Linked DNA regions of Homo sapiens: regions 1, 3, 4 and 5 are each linked to region 2. The links are contacts of gene promoters, found by promoter capture Hi-C in blood cells and fetal thymus (Javierre and others, 2016). All regions are on one chromosome and are shown on one strand. The core of a region is centred on a gene start or on the middle of the fragment in contact, and the rest is flanking DNA. Distances in the headings are between cores, read along the strand shown. Region 1 holds the start of NCL (nucleolin). Region 2 holds the start of HTR2B (5-hydroxytryptamine receptor 2B). Region 3 has its middle 13 kb from the start of B3GNT7. Region 4 has its middle 8.1 kb from the start of SNORA75. Region 5 has its middle 29 kb from the start of SNORA75.

Region 1 (2,700 bases), core at 74-2,573, 340 kb before region 2:
TGGGAGAACATCTATGAAAATGTGAAAGTCCATACCCTTGACCCAGCTGTTCTACAGATATGATTTGTGTAAAATAACGTAAGTGAGAATATTTGCTATAGCAGTTTGTAATGGCCAAACATAGCAAAAAACCCTAACTATCCAGCAATGGTGACTAGATAAATTGTGATCCTTCCACACAAGGAATGCCATGTAGCTATTAAAAAGAATGAGGCAGCTCTACATGTGCTGATGTAGGATGAGTTACAAGATACATATAGTTAACACAAAAGAAGAGCTCAGAACAGTGTATATGATAGCGTTTGTATTAAATATAACAAATATACTTGTCTATTTGCACGTACGGCTGAATCTGGAAGGATATACAAGAGACTGCCACTGCCTTGAGACTGGGAGGCCTAGGGGACAGGAACGGGAGGGAGACCTTTTATTGTGCATCTGTTTGAATCTTTTGAATTTTGCACTATGTGTATACTTTACAATTCAATAAATACTCATGTTTTCAAAAGAAAACAAAAAAGCATTTAGAAACAAACAGGCCAGACGTGGTGGCTCACCTTTGGGAGGCTGAGGAGGGAGGATTGATATAGCTGGGGATGTCAAGGCTGCAGTGAGCCATGATCCTGCCACTGCACTCCAGCCTGGGTGACAGAGTGAGATTCTGTCTCAAAAAAAAGAAACTGGGATGACACAGCAGTGTCTTCACTTATATCCTACGCCTCCACTGCTAGCTATGCGACCCTGGACAAGTTAATTTACCTCTATGTCCCAGTTTCTGTAAAACAGTGGTAACTTTTTGGAAAGGTTATTTTGAAGAGTAAGTTAATTAATATGTAAAGAGCTGGAAGAGCGCCTGGCACTGAATCAGCATTATGAAGTGTTAGATATTGCTATTTTGCTGCCCCAGACCAACTCCAAAGCAACGCCACTTGAGCCATGCCGGCTCTCCCTGCTGCTGCTTCTACCTAAATACTTCATTCATTTAACAAATAATTTTATTTTCTTTCTTTTTTTTTTTTTTGAGATGGGGTTTCGCTCTTGTTCCTCAGGCTGGAGTTCAATGACGCGATCTCGGCTCACTGCAACCTCCGCCTCCTGGGCTCAAGCGATCCTCTCACCTCAGCCTCCCGAGTAGCTGGGACTCCAGGCGAGCGCCACCATGCCCGCTAATTATTTTTTGTGTGGAGACAGGGTCGCATTATATTACCCAGGCCGGTCTCAAGTTCCTGGACTCAAGCGATCCTCCTGCATCAGCCTCCCAAAGTACTGGGATTACAGGCATGAGCCATCGCACCCGGCCTTAACAAATGCTTTTCTTTCTGAGACGGAGTCTCGCTCTGTCGCCCAGGCTGGAGTGCAGTGGGCGATCTCGGCTCACTGCAACCTCCGCCTCCCCGGTTCATGCGCCTCGGCCTCCCAAAATGCTGGGATTGCGGATCTGAGCCACCGCGCCCGGCCTGAGGTGATTTTTAACAAGTACAGCCGTAGCTGCAGATATCCTGGTTCTGTAGGAACAATGAGGTATGGATGGATCCATAGCTGGACCTATGGATGGGATGGATCCCCGGCAGGCCCTGGACGGAGGGAAATGCTCTGGTTTGCTAAGCCCGGCATCGAGTGAGACCCACCCACAAAGCTAACCGTGGAAGTCACTGGCGGCCTCCTTCGCCCTGCCGCCGGGGAACCCTGCCGGTGGCTCTCGACCTGCTCCCGGGCCATCTGGTGACACTGACTTCGCAGCCACCACCTTAATTGGCGCATTCGACCCAAATAATAACCAGGGAACCTGTGGGCGGTCAAAGGCCCGGCTCTGCGGTCGGCCCTCCCAGGCCCCTCTCCCTGCCCTGTGAGGCCAGAAAGTTACTTCTCCGAGGCCGTTCCCCATGTCGAGAAATATCTCCCGCTTGAGGTTCTGTGGGGTAGGGGAGGTTCGTGCATTTCTCACAGAAAACCTCGCACAGACCCGCGACTGCCTTTATTAACAGCTCTCAGGAGACTGCCTGCAGCCGGGGGGTGCCTCCGGCCCCATGCTCGCGGGCAAGCAGGGATAAGCTGTGCCTCCAAAAGGGCCAACGGGAACTCCGCGGTCCCTGAACTTCCGGTGCTGGCGGACTCCTCGCTCCAGGGCCACCAGGAGCCGCGGCGTGAGTGCGTGCCGGGACCGAGCGCGGGGTCTCTGAGGAACTCCAAGGCTGCCCAAGCCTACGGACCCAGCCACATTGGCGAACCGGAGACCGCCCGATTCCACCACCCCCGCGCTCCCCTCACAGCCGGCGCCAAAAACGCCAGTCCCACGACGCAGGCCGGGACCCGCGCGCCCACGGCCCAATCAGCGCGGACCTTGCACAAAGCGAGCCCCGCCCCCACGGCGCCGTTGCCAGCCCCTCCCCCTCCCGTGGCCGCCTCGGCCCGCCTACTCCCCGCCCCGCGCCGTTCACGGTTAGAGGCTCGCGATTGGCTCATGGGGACGGCCGCGAGCTTTGGTTGGTCGGCGCGGAGTCACGAGGGCGCCGTCGTCGCCTTTCCACAGGCGATTACTGGGCAGGCTCAGTCTTTCGCCTCAGTCTCGAGCTCTCGCTGGCCTTCGGGTGTACGTGCTCCGGGATCTTCAGCACCCGCGGCCGCCATCGCCGTCGCTTGGCTTCTTCTGGACTCATCTGCGCCACTTGTCCGCTTCACACTCCGCCGCCATCATGGTGA
Region 2 (2,700 bases), core at 95-2,594:
CTCACTGCAGCCTCGACCTCCCCCAGGTTCATGCAATCCTCCTGCCTCAGGTCTCCCCTGACCCCTAACCCTCAACCCCTCCGCCGCCGCCCAGTAGCTGGGACTACGGGTGTGAACCACCACCCTTGGCTAATTTATGTGGTTTTTTTTGTAGAGATGGGGTTTTGCCATGTTGCCCAAGCTGGTCTCTTCTAGACTCAAGCAATCCACCTGTCTTGGTCTACCAAAGTGCTGGAATTACAGGAATGAGCCACCGCACCTTGCCTTAAAATATTTTCATATTCCTGAATAGAAATTCTGGTACATTAAAAAACATCTGATTTCTCTTGAATATTATTTCATCTAGAATTCTTCACAAGTATTTTTTCTAATATAGTAAATTTTGAGTTTTTAAAAAAGCAGCAAATACTGAATAAAATCTGAAGTGCTCAGCAGAGCTAAAATGAACTAAGTATTTTCCAATAACATTCAACATGAGCAAAGGAATACAAATTTGAAACAAGAAAAGGGCACAAATGTCATCACTGATTTATAAGTAATTAATTTTAAAATATGCATCTATAATGATCTTTTAAAAGGAAACCTTGAGAATGCTGAGGTTCTAATACTAAGCTAGTCTTATGGTTACAGAAAACTTAAATAGCATAACTATTAAGATTTAAACACCAATTTTCTGAAATAAGGCAAAAACGTATTTTCATTACTTGTATTTTCTCCAACGTAAAGTCTATGGGGAAAAAAAGCTGTGAACCACTCCTAAACCCAGAGATCATCTGTTTAAAAATAAGCAGTAAAAAAGTTTCTGCTAAAACCTATGTATACATGTAGAATTCAGGCCTTTCTGTGCTCTTCTATATAAGGTTGCAACCAGAGCAAATTAATGGTGTTCCACAGCAAAGGCACAAAAGCTAGATAAGAATCTTGTTTCACTGCTAGAAATCAGAACTGTAGAAATCACTATAGGCTTTTAAAACGGCAGAATCTTCAAAGAATGAAACCTCTAAAATAGCTAGATTATATCTTATTTTTTCTCAAATGTGAAAAACAGCTCAGGCTTAACCCCAAACAAAACTATCTGAAGCTAAAATGATCAAGTTTATTACAGTCCCCCCAAATATTAAAGAGAGCTCTTAAAAATATAACTTGAATAAGGGCCATGAACTGGTTCAACATGCTTAACAGTGGTTTTATGAATTACAATGAATGCTGCTACTCTCTAAAAATGAATGTATCAAAGAGGAAATAACCTCCTTGGCATGCTTGCAGCTATACAACGTATTTGTTTCACTGCTTTCAACCGCCTGTGCTGGAGGCTCAGAATAAGTCAATGGGAGGAGGATTTCAGTCACAGCAGCAAGCAAGTCTAGTGAACAGATAAGATGACATGCTCAGCAAAATAACAACGAAACCAGAGGTAAGCATTTAATAAACACATATGGAATTAATCTAAAGGTTTTTTTTTTTAATCTTCAAGAATTCTGCTATCATAATCTTTCATTTCTATTCAGCGGTTTAAAAATCAAAATGAAAAATTTACTAATGCTAAAGGAGAGTTTTTAAAAACGTGATTTGTACATTTGATGAACAAATAAATGGTCTAATCTTCCTTTTGGTTTCCCTTTCTTCTCAAGGCAACTGGGAAGGTTAAAAAAATAAACACTACTTAAAACAAAAAAAGAACTGGTTTGAATTTGGCAAATTTAGTGATTAAATTTAGAACACAATTGTTGCAAAGACATACCATGAGAGATGAAATTACTAAACACAATTATTTGGATCCTAGTAATACCTTTTTTTTTCCTTCTCTCAAACTAAAGGAAATCTAAAATGACATTTATATCAGTACTCACAAACCTGATAAGACAAAGCTAATTACATATAAGGATCCCTAGCTGGTAAAACATTTATTTAGACCCTTGTTGGGCTTTGAGTGTTTCTAGGTGGGTGGCCAGCGCATACTAAAAGTTCTATTCTGAACTATTGTGTTTCGACTTTTCTATTCTTCTGTAAGTAAAGGTAAAAAGACATTCAAGGGTCAGGAAACACCTAACTTTTTATTATAACCATTGAAAAAATTAATGTGTCTTCTGTTTCATTAACTGAGCAACATCAGAAATACAGTATATTTGGAGAATTGGCTGCATTGTCACAAATGCACAACAGACTTACTAAGAAGGGAAGGGCTATGAAGTTCAAGTGTTTTTACCACTTTCAGAAATGAATAAAATAATGCAGTCTATGTATTTTGTATCTAGGGGGAACTCTCTGGCATGCAAGTTCAAACACGACTCTACAACTACGGCAGAAAAAGAGAGAGAGAGAAACTAAAAATATATATATATCCTATTTTTTTCACAGCTATCAGTTTCTTTCACTGAGCTTTCCTAAATTTAAGCCTCTAGAAAATAATAAATACTTGGATATCTTACCTACAAACATGGACAGATGTGTGTATGCGCTCATTTTAGAGAACTTGAATTTTTTTTTTTAAAGGAAGGTGTCAACTTTGGCTTTTGAGTGTTTGGCATGGTTACAATGCCTTAAAAAAACAGATGAGCAGCTTAGCTACTAACCATGCTGACCACTGTTCGGAACGGGATTGAATCACAGAAAAACAGCAAATGGCTCTCTCTTACAGAGTGTCTGAACTTCAAAGCACAATTCCTGAGCACATTTTGCAGAGCACCTTTGTTCACGTTA
Region 3 (2,783 bases), core at 109-2,608, 280 kb before region 2:
GGTGACTGAGAGAAGGGTAACTTTGTTTTGGAAGCATAGGCCCCACCGCAGCCTGTGCAGTGAAGGTAGCCAAGCCTCAGAAGCCACAGGACTGTGCAGGCCCGCTGTTCCACAGCGCCCCTGTGTGGAGAGAGAGGGAACAACTGGAGATGACTGCTCAGACTTTCCAGAGAACCCTCTCTTTGGAGGAGGGAAATCCCTGAGGTTCTTGGACAATTTGAGAGTGGGTTCCAAGAGGCTGATATTGGATTTTTCTGCCAATAATGGTACATGAGGGATTTGAGCAATCAATGAGAAAAATTAAAAAGTAACCATATTTGTACCCTGAGTTAAAGTCATATTGACTACACGTTAAATGTTTACCAGGGTGCCTGGCATATGAAATGTGCTCCATAAAATGTCAGTTGTTATCATTACCAGGAAGCAAAACTAAATGCCTGATTTTCCAGAGTGGGGCCCCACTGGAGCTGGCCAGAATGGGCCAAAGTGCGCCAGAGGGAGGGGTGGAGGTGCCTCAAAACTGCCCTCTGCTCCCTCAGGCTGCCGTGAACCCCTGCTCTTTGTCCCTTTGTGCTCAGGATAAAGTTAAAGTACTCCTGAACCTAGAAGACCTGAGAAACTGCCCTGCCTGCCTCCCAGCCTCCCACCCCTTCTCTCACCCCAGGTCCAGCCCCGAGAGGAGCTCCTTTCCGCTTCAGAATGCATCCACCCTGCTCCCAGCAGCCCTTGGTATATGTGGTTCCCTCTGCCTCATCCTTCAGGGGCAGCTGAACCCATAACCGTCTCTGGGCCTCCACCTGGGCCTGGGTCCTGTGGCCTGTACACCTCCATTTTCTGGGTGTCCCTGGGCTGCCCTCTCCCATGCTGAACTGTGAGCCCCAATCCCCTCTCTGCAGCCCAGAGCAGGACCTGGCTTCTGAGGATGAGGAGGGGCAAATAGGGCTGGCATCACAGTCGCAGGCCTCCCTCAGAAGCTCCCAGCACTTGGTTTAATGCTCAATGCTCTGCTGTGGCAATCTTAAATTCTTTTTTTTTTTTTTTTTTTTTTTGAGACAGTGTCTCGCTCTGTCACCCAGGCTGGAGTGCAGTGATGCGATCACAGCTCACTGCAGCCTCGACCTCCTGGGCTCAAGGGATCCTCCCACCTCAGCATCCCGAGGCAATCTCTGGCAACCTTGGCCCCAGACAGGTGCGTGCCACCACTCTGAGGTAATTTTAAAATTTTTTAAGAAAAAAATTAGCCAGGCGTGGTGGTGGGTGCCTGTAGTCCCAGCTACTCGGGAGGCTGAGGCAGCAGAATGGCGCGAACCTGGGAAGCAGAGCTTGCAGTGAGCTGAGATCGCACCACTGCACTCCAGCCTGGGCGACAGAATGAGACCTCTGTCTCAAAAAAAAAAAATTTTTTTTTTTGTAGAGACAGGGGTCTCTCTATGTTGCCCAGGCTGGTCCCAAATTCCTGGGCTCAAGCCATCCTCCCACCTCAGCCTCCCAAAGTGTTGGGATTACAGGCGTGAGCCTGACCTTTAAAATTCTTAATACCTTTTTAAAACCAGGGTCCTGTAATTTCATTTTGCACTGGGCTCTGCAAATTATGCAGCCGGCTGGCCAAGAGAGAACTGTGGGAAGACCTGTGCTGAGGAGGGAGAAATAGCAGTGTAGCAGGATGAGTCGCAGACAAAACTCCTCAGACACCAGATTAAAGAAGGAAGAGGTTTTTATTCGGCCGGGAGCGTCAGCAGACTCGCGTCTTAAGAGCCGAGCTCCCCGAGAAAGAAACTCCTAGCCCTTTTAAGAGCTTACAACTCTAAGGGGTCCACGTGAAAGGGTCATAATAGATCAAGTAAGCGTGAGGAACGTGACTGGGGGCTACACACATCAGCTAACAGGACAAAAAGTTTTACGGTGCTTTCTCACACAATGTCTGGAATTTACGGATAACACCAGTCGTTTTGGTCAGGGGTTAATATTATTATTATCATTCTAACCACCAGGGCCAGGTGGTGGCGCCAAGGTCGTCTAGCTATTTATCTTACTTCTGTTTCTTTCCAGCTTTTTGCTTTCTCCCTTTTCTCCCGTCTTATAAACTAGGGAAAAGGGGAGGTTGGGGAGAAGCTGGGAAGGACAACAGGAGAAGTGGTGGTCTCATTCCCTATTTCCCCCCTTTGAGAATTTTCACTTTTTAGTGGGAGTTCTCACTCTCATCCTCACTTTTTGAGTCTCTTTGCGAGATAGAGCGATAGTGATTCATATAATTCACGTGTGCTGAAGTTTTCTGATGAACCAAAGTAGCAACAATACCTTTTATCATTTGAAAAAGCAAGGGTAATACACAGGGGAGCAGCAAGCAAGTTCTTATTACTAGCAATACACCTACAATGAGGGTTTTAAATCCTCCTATAGCTGGAAACCATTTTCCAAATAAAGACTCAGGATCAAACTTGTGCCAAACCTGTATAGGCGTGTGTGCCAACTTTGTCATGTCCCTGACTATGTTTTCAATCACCTGTCCTTGATCATCTATTTGTAGGCAGCAATTGGTTAAGTTAAATTTTCCACAAACTCCTCCTTCAGCTGCCAGCAAGTAGTCCAAGGCCAGTCTATTCTGATAGATAGCATTCCTCATTTGGGTTTCCTGCCGAGCTAAAACAGTCAAAGCTCTGCCAGTTTCATTAGTAATTATTTCTAAGACGGTCTGCAACCGTATGATCTGATTGAGCATGTAGATGGGGGTTTGGTATCCCCATGAGCCGTCTTGTACCCATGTGGCAGGCCCATAATATTGT
Region 4 (2,700 bases), core at 91-2,590, 320 kb before region 2:
AAAATTAGCCAGGCGGGCCTGGCGCAGTGGCTCACACCTGTAATCCCAGCACTTTGGGAGGCCAAGGCGGGCGGATTACCTGAGGTCAGGAGTTCAAGACGAACCTGGTCAACATGGTGAAACCTCACCTCTACTAAAAATACAAAAATTAACCGGGCATGGTGGCGTATGCTTGTAGGCCCAGTTACTCGGGAAGCCGAGGCAGGAGAATCGCTGGAACCTGGGAGGCAGAGGTTGCAGTGAGCCTAGATTGCACCACTGTACTCCAGCCTGGGCAACAGAGCAAGACCTTATATATATAAAAAAAAAAAAAAAAAAAAAAATTAGCCAGGCATGGTGTCACGCTCTTATAGTCCCAGCTACTAGGGAGACTAAAGTGGGAGGATCACCTGAGCCACTGGGGAGGTTGAGGCTGCAGTGAGCTGTGATTGCACCACTACGCTCTAGCCTGGGCAACAGAGGGAGGCCTGTCTCAAAAAAAACAAAACAAAAAAACTCTGGGTAAACTATTTATTTATTTTATTTTTAGTTTTTTATTTTTTAATTTTTATTTTTGAAGATGGAGTCTCTCTCTGTCACCCAGGCTGAAGTGCAGTGGCACAATCTCAGCTCACGGCAACCTCTACCGCCCAGGTTCAAGCAATTCTCCTACCTCAGCCTCCTGAGTAGCTGGGACTACAGGCATGTGCCACCACGCCTGGCTAATTTTTTGTACTTTTAGTAGAGACAAGGTCTTATCATGCTGGCGAGTCTGTCTCAAACTCCTGACCTCAGGTGATTCGCCTGCCTCAGCCTCCCAAAGTGCTGGGATTACAGGCATTAACCATCGCACCAGGCCCTGGGCGAAATATTTAAAGATCAACTTCTAAAGTTGATTTGTCTTCCAATAATACCAGATAGAAAACTGGAGCAACCCAGGGAAGATGGTATCGATCCTGGAAAGAAGGGAAGCACACTGGATGAGACCCATGTTTAACCAGCTTTTCCCCTGAGGGCATCACCCAACTTGCGTGACTCCGGGGGAATAGAGCAGAAAGTGGATGTCTTACTGTGCTGAGGAATCAGGTTGGAGTGTGAGTCGGAAATTTTGGGAAATAATGAAAATGAGGGAGACACAGAGGAGGAAACCATAAAATCTGCATAGAAATTGCCTTCAAATTCCTTTTTTCTTTTAATTTTTTCTTTAATAGAGACAGGGTCTTGCTATGTTGCCCAGGCTGGTCTCAAACGCCTGGGCTCAAGTGATCTCCCGCCTCAGACTCCCAAAGTGCTGGGATTATTGGTGTGAGCCACCACACCTGGCCAGAGCAACCTTTCTTTCTGAGACGGAGTCTTGCTGTCACCCAGGCTGGAGTGCAGTGGCTCACTGCAACCTCCATCTCCTAGGTTCAAGCGATTCTCCTGTCTCAGCCTCCTGAGTAGCTGGGACTACAGGCGCCCGCCACCACACCCAGTTAATTTTTTGTATTTTTAGTACAGACGGGTTTTCACCATGTTAGCCAGGATGGTCTCAATCTCCTGACCTCGTGATCCGCCTGCCTCGGCTTCCCAAAGTGCTAGGATTACAGGCGTGAGCCACTGCGCCCGGCCCAGAGCAACATTTCATAATGAAAAAAAGGTAAATTTACTAGAAAGACATAGCAATCTTAAATGTGCATGCAAACAATAACAGAGTTTTATAACCTGTGAAGCAAAAAATTGATAAAGAGAAATGGACAAATTTTCAATCACAGTTGGAGATTTTAACACCCCTCATTTAGTAACAGATAAAGTAAATAGACAAACATCAATAATGATATAGAAGAATTGAAAACTGTTGGTCATTTAGGTCTAGCTATTGAAAAACACATCTTCTTTTCACGTGCACATAAAACATTCACCAAAATATTCTAGGCTCCAAAACAAATCTCAAGAAATTTCAAAGGATTGGAAAATATACAATCTGATATAACAGAAATAAATTAGAAATGAATAATAAGATACCTAGAATACTCCTAAACATTTGTATATTAATTACATTTCTGAAAAACACTTCTGAATGGATCAAAGTAGAAATCACGGGAGAAATTAGATACTATTTCAAAATGAATGACAATAAAAACACATTTTGGGATGCAGCTAAAGCAGTTCTTAGATGGAAATTTATAACTTAAAATACTTTAGAAAAGAAAAAGAGTTTTAAAGTTAACTGTCTGTTTCCAGCTTAAGCATGTAAAAAAGAAAGAAGAAATACATAGGAAAAGGAAATAATAAAAATAACAATTAATGATGTAAAAAAATCAAGACAAAAATCAGTTCACTGAAAGGATAAATAAGATAAAATTGATAGTCCTCTAGCAAGACTGATCAAGAAAAAAAGAAGACAAAACACAAATAGCCATTATCAGGAATGAAAGAAGGGGTATCATCACATTATAGATTGTACTGATTATTATTATTATTATTATTTTTTTAAGAGACAGGGTCTTGCTCTGTTGTCCACTGCCCAGGCTGGAGTGCAGTGGCATGACTGTAGCTCGCTGCAGCCTGGAACTCCAGGGCTCAAGCGATCCTCCTGCCTCAGCCTCTCAAGTGGCTGAAACCACAGGTGCATGCCACCATGCCTGGCTAATTAAAAAAAATTTTTTTTTTTTAATTTTTGTAGGAATGGAGTCTTGTTATGTTGCCCAGGCTGGTCTTGAACTTCTAGCCTCAAGTAAT
Region 5 (2,700 bases), core at 11-2,510, 300 kb before region 2:
TAGCTGGGCATGGTGGCACATGCCTGTAATCCCAGCTATTCAGCAGGCTGAGGCAGGAGAATGGCTTGAACCTGGGAGGCGGAGGTTGCAGTGAGCCAAGATCATGTCATTGTACTCCAACCTGGGCAACAAGAGTAAAACTGCATCTAAAAAAAAAAAATTAATGAATCAACTGTATATTAACTTCAGTGTCTTTAAACAGAAACAAACATAAAAAAAGGTTATGCGTTGGTCGACTGAGGAAAATATTGTGACTAGGCCGGGCATGGTGGCTCAAGCCTGTAATTCCAGCACTTTGGGAGGCCGAGGTGAGCGGATCACTTGAGGCCAGGAGTTTGAGACCAGCCTGGTCAACATGGTGAAACCCCATCTCTACTAAAAATAAAAAAAATTAGCCAGGCGTGGTGGCACACACCTGTAATCACAGCTACTTGGGAGGCTGAGGCACGAGAATCACTTGAATCCAGGCAGTGGAGGTTGCAGTTTGCTGAGAATGCACCACACACCACTGCACTCCAGCCTGGGCAATAGAGTGAGACTCGGTCCAAAAAAAAAAAAAGAAAGAAAGAAAATACTGTGACCAGACCCTCACAGGTACCTAAGGAGGAACCTAATTTCTCCCAGGAGCAAAGCTTCAACATTCACTAATCCAGTGTTTGTGGTGATTTTATAGAACATAACCACCACGAATCAGGAGCATGGGCTGTACCTCCTGCTGGTTGTGTTTCTCTGGTTGCGATCTGACTGATATAGTGACAAAGTCACAGAACTGCTAATACTATTGTGGTTTTTTGCCACTACCTTAACAAATTTTGAAGAAAAGTTAAGGGTTGGTGAAAACAAAGATGTCTATTTATTCCCATCCATGCATATGAGTCCCCTGAATGCTCTCTGTGGACCCTGTGGGCATTCGTGGACCCCAGGTTAAGACCACCTGCAGGTTAACAGAGGATAATGCAAAGGCCCACACCAATCATGGTGAAGGGTGGAGGTAGCAATGTTCCCACAGGCTCTGAGGAAGCAGTGAAGCTGGAAGGCCCCACCGGGGAACTGGAGGCTGAGGGCTCAGCAGGCCTGTGGGCTCTGCTCCCCAGCTGAAGACACGGTACCCCTAGTTCTTCCTTAAGCTGTGGTTGCCCCAAGCTAGATCCATCCGAAAAAACCATGGCTGCCTACGGGTGTTGAGGAAGCGTTGTTTGCAAGGGCTGGGGTTTGCCCCAGTGGCTCTGAGGCCTCTCCCTCTCCTTGCACTAAACTCAGACAATTCTGTTCTTCTCCTATTATTCTACCTGTGATTTTAAGTGCTCCTCGTATCTGCACAAACTTACCCCCATCTCTTTTTATTGAAAAAGCAAACAGATCCCCTGATTCTTTGGGTCTGGGATGATACTTTGGCTGACTATCTGTGCCCTCCACCCACTACACCCTCCCAGAAAATGAAATTAATCTACTTAGGTTCATCACAAAGGTGGGCTGGTCGACCCAGTGGCAGACCGTCCCGCCCATGTCACCATACCAAGCGCCCTTCTGCTTCAGGTCCTGGGAGGTCAGGACTTCCTGGTGTCATCCTCAGACGGCGGGACAAGGCTGGGGCTGGATTCTTCCTGTCTGGGTTCACCTCCAATTGCTGGTGCTTCCTTAAGCACAGCACTATTGCCCCCATGTTTATGAACGGGAAAGGATACTAATTAGAACCAGCCAAAGGAAGAGACACAGGGTAGAGTCCAGGGAGGGTCCTGATGAGGAGCTGGCAGCCACCGGTGTGGCATCACCTCCTTCTTGCTGTGATGTGTGACAATTCGCAGAGTACCGCCAACGGGTGTGGCATCACCTCCTCCTTGCTGTGATGTATGACAATTCGCAGAGTACCGCCAACCACGGAAGCTTCCCCGGGCTTTGATGTCAGAATTTGTGTTGCAGTTTCCCTCTGTGGGCAGGGTGATGGAATCATTGCCTGTGAGGTTGAACTGGGTCTCTAGCTTGTTTCTTCGCCCCGGGGGTTGCTCTGACAGCTCTCGCCCTCAGGGGCCCATCATGAGTCACCTCATTAGGGTAACGGTAAACCATCAGGTGTGGTCTTCCAGGAGCCAGGACAAAGGCACAAAGGCCAGATCTCTCTGGGGAGAGGGAGCGTGTGAATTGCTTAGTACACAGCTCCTGACTTTAGCCTCCTGCCCCTCAGGCTGGTGCTTCCCCAGCTCTGACTACACATTCTGCTTTGTGAGTGATTTTACGAGTCTCACCTGGCCTGGAACTGGCAATGGGGAAATTGCTGAGGCAGGTGGCTGGCTCCAGGGCCTGGCTTGAAGATGGGCAGGAAGGCACTTACACTGCCCTCTCATGAGCCCCCCGGTACCCCCTTACAGCCCCAGACCCCAGTGATGTTCAGGCTTTTGGAGCAAGCCCTGTTGCTTTCTGCAACCTCTGTGGGTGGACTCGGACTCCTGACTGGTCACTTGCGGAAGAGAAGACCAGCGGCTCCTCTCCCTCTCGCAGGAGACTGAAGGCTGCCACCTCTGAGACCTCCTACCCTTTGGCTCCCCTTCTGGGAACCATGTGAAAGTGGCTGTCATGAGCCACATCCTGTCCAGCTGAAGTCCTGCTTGATGTTGGCAGAGGATGTGGTCGTTCAGAGCTGGGAGGACAGACCAGACACCAAGCAAGACCAAGAACTCTCCACTATTTCTGACTCTGGATGAG

The links. Contacts are between HindIII fragments. The CHiCAGO score rates a contact against its expected background, and 5 or more counts as called.
Region 1: a contact is called between a fragment that was not itself captured here and the fragment with the promoter of HTR2B in region 2, in 2 of 17 cell types (endothelial precursors and megakaryocytes). The highest score is 5.3, in endothelial precursors.
Region 3: a contact is called between a fragment that was not itself captured here and the fragment with the promoter of HTR2B in region 2, in 2 of 17 cell types (megakaryocytes and endothelial precursors). The highest score is 7.2, in megakaryocytes.
Region 4: a contact is called between a fragment that was not itself captured here and the fragment with the promoter of HTR2B in region 2, in 10 of 17 cell types (erythroblasts, megakaryocytes, total CD4 T cells and 7 more). The highest score is 11.9, in erythroblasts.
Region 5: a fragment that was not itself captured here is called in contact with the fragment with the promoter of HTR2B in region 2 in 8 of 17 cell types (erythroblasts, megakaryocytes, M1 macrophages and 5 more); the score reaches 9.0 in erythroblasts.

Annotation. Positions count from the first base shown.
Region 1 is chr2:231,464,347-231,467,046 of GRCh38, reverse strand. It overlaps NCL (nucleolin), which reads left to right and starts at 2,563. Exons shown (of 14, transcript NM_005381.3): 1 at 2,563-2,700. The coding sequence starts at 2,694. RefSeq lists enhancers at 2,009-2,108, 2,619-2,700, 2,154-2,700 and a silencer at 2,239-2,588. The HindIII fragment of the contact is 4,015 bases long and covers 1-2,700 here.
Region 2 is chr2:231,123,686-231,126,385 of GRCh38, reverse strand. HTR2B (5-hydroxytryptamine receptor 2B) reads left to right here and starts at 1,344. Exons shown (of 4, transcript NM_000867.5): 1 at 1,344-1,414; 2 at 2,256-2,700. The coding sequence starts at 2,622. All of the region lies in intron 16 of PSMD1 (proteasome 26S subunit, non-ATPase 1), which reads right to left. The HindIII fragment of the contact is 5,824 bases long and covers 1-2,700 here.
Region 3 is chr2:231,407,715-231,410,497 of GRCh38, reverse strand. No RefSeq gene overlaps it. Among named protein-coding and RNA genes, the nearest start is that of B3GNT7, 13 kb to the right of the region's middle. RefSeq lists an enhancer at 1-90. The HindIII fragment of the contact is 3,590 bases long and covers 1-2,783 here.
Region 4 is chr2:231,446,521-231,449,220 of GRCh38, reverse strand. No RefSeq gene overlaps it. Among named protein-coding and RNA genes, the nearest start is that of SNORA75, 8.1 kb to the left of the region's middle. The HindIII fragment of the contact is 7,975 bases long and covers 1-2,700 here.
Region 5 is chr2:231,425,361-231,428,060 of GRCh38, reverse strand. No RefSeq gene overlaps it. Among named protein-coding and RNA genes, the nearest start is that of SNORA75, 29 kb to the left of the region's middle. The HindIII fragment of the contact is 1,252 bases long and covers 635-1,886 here.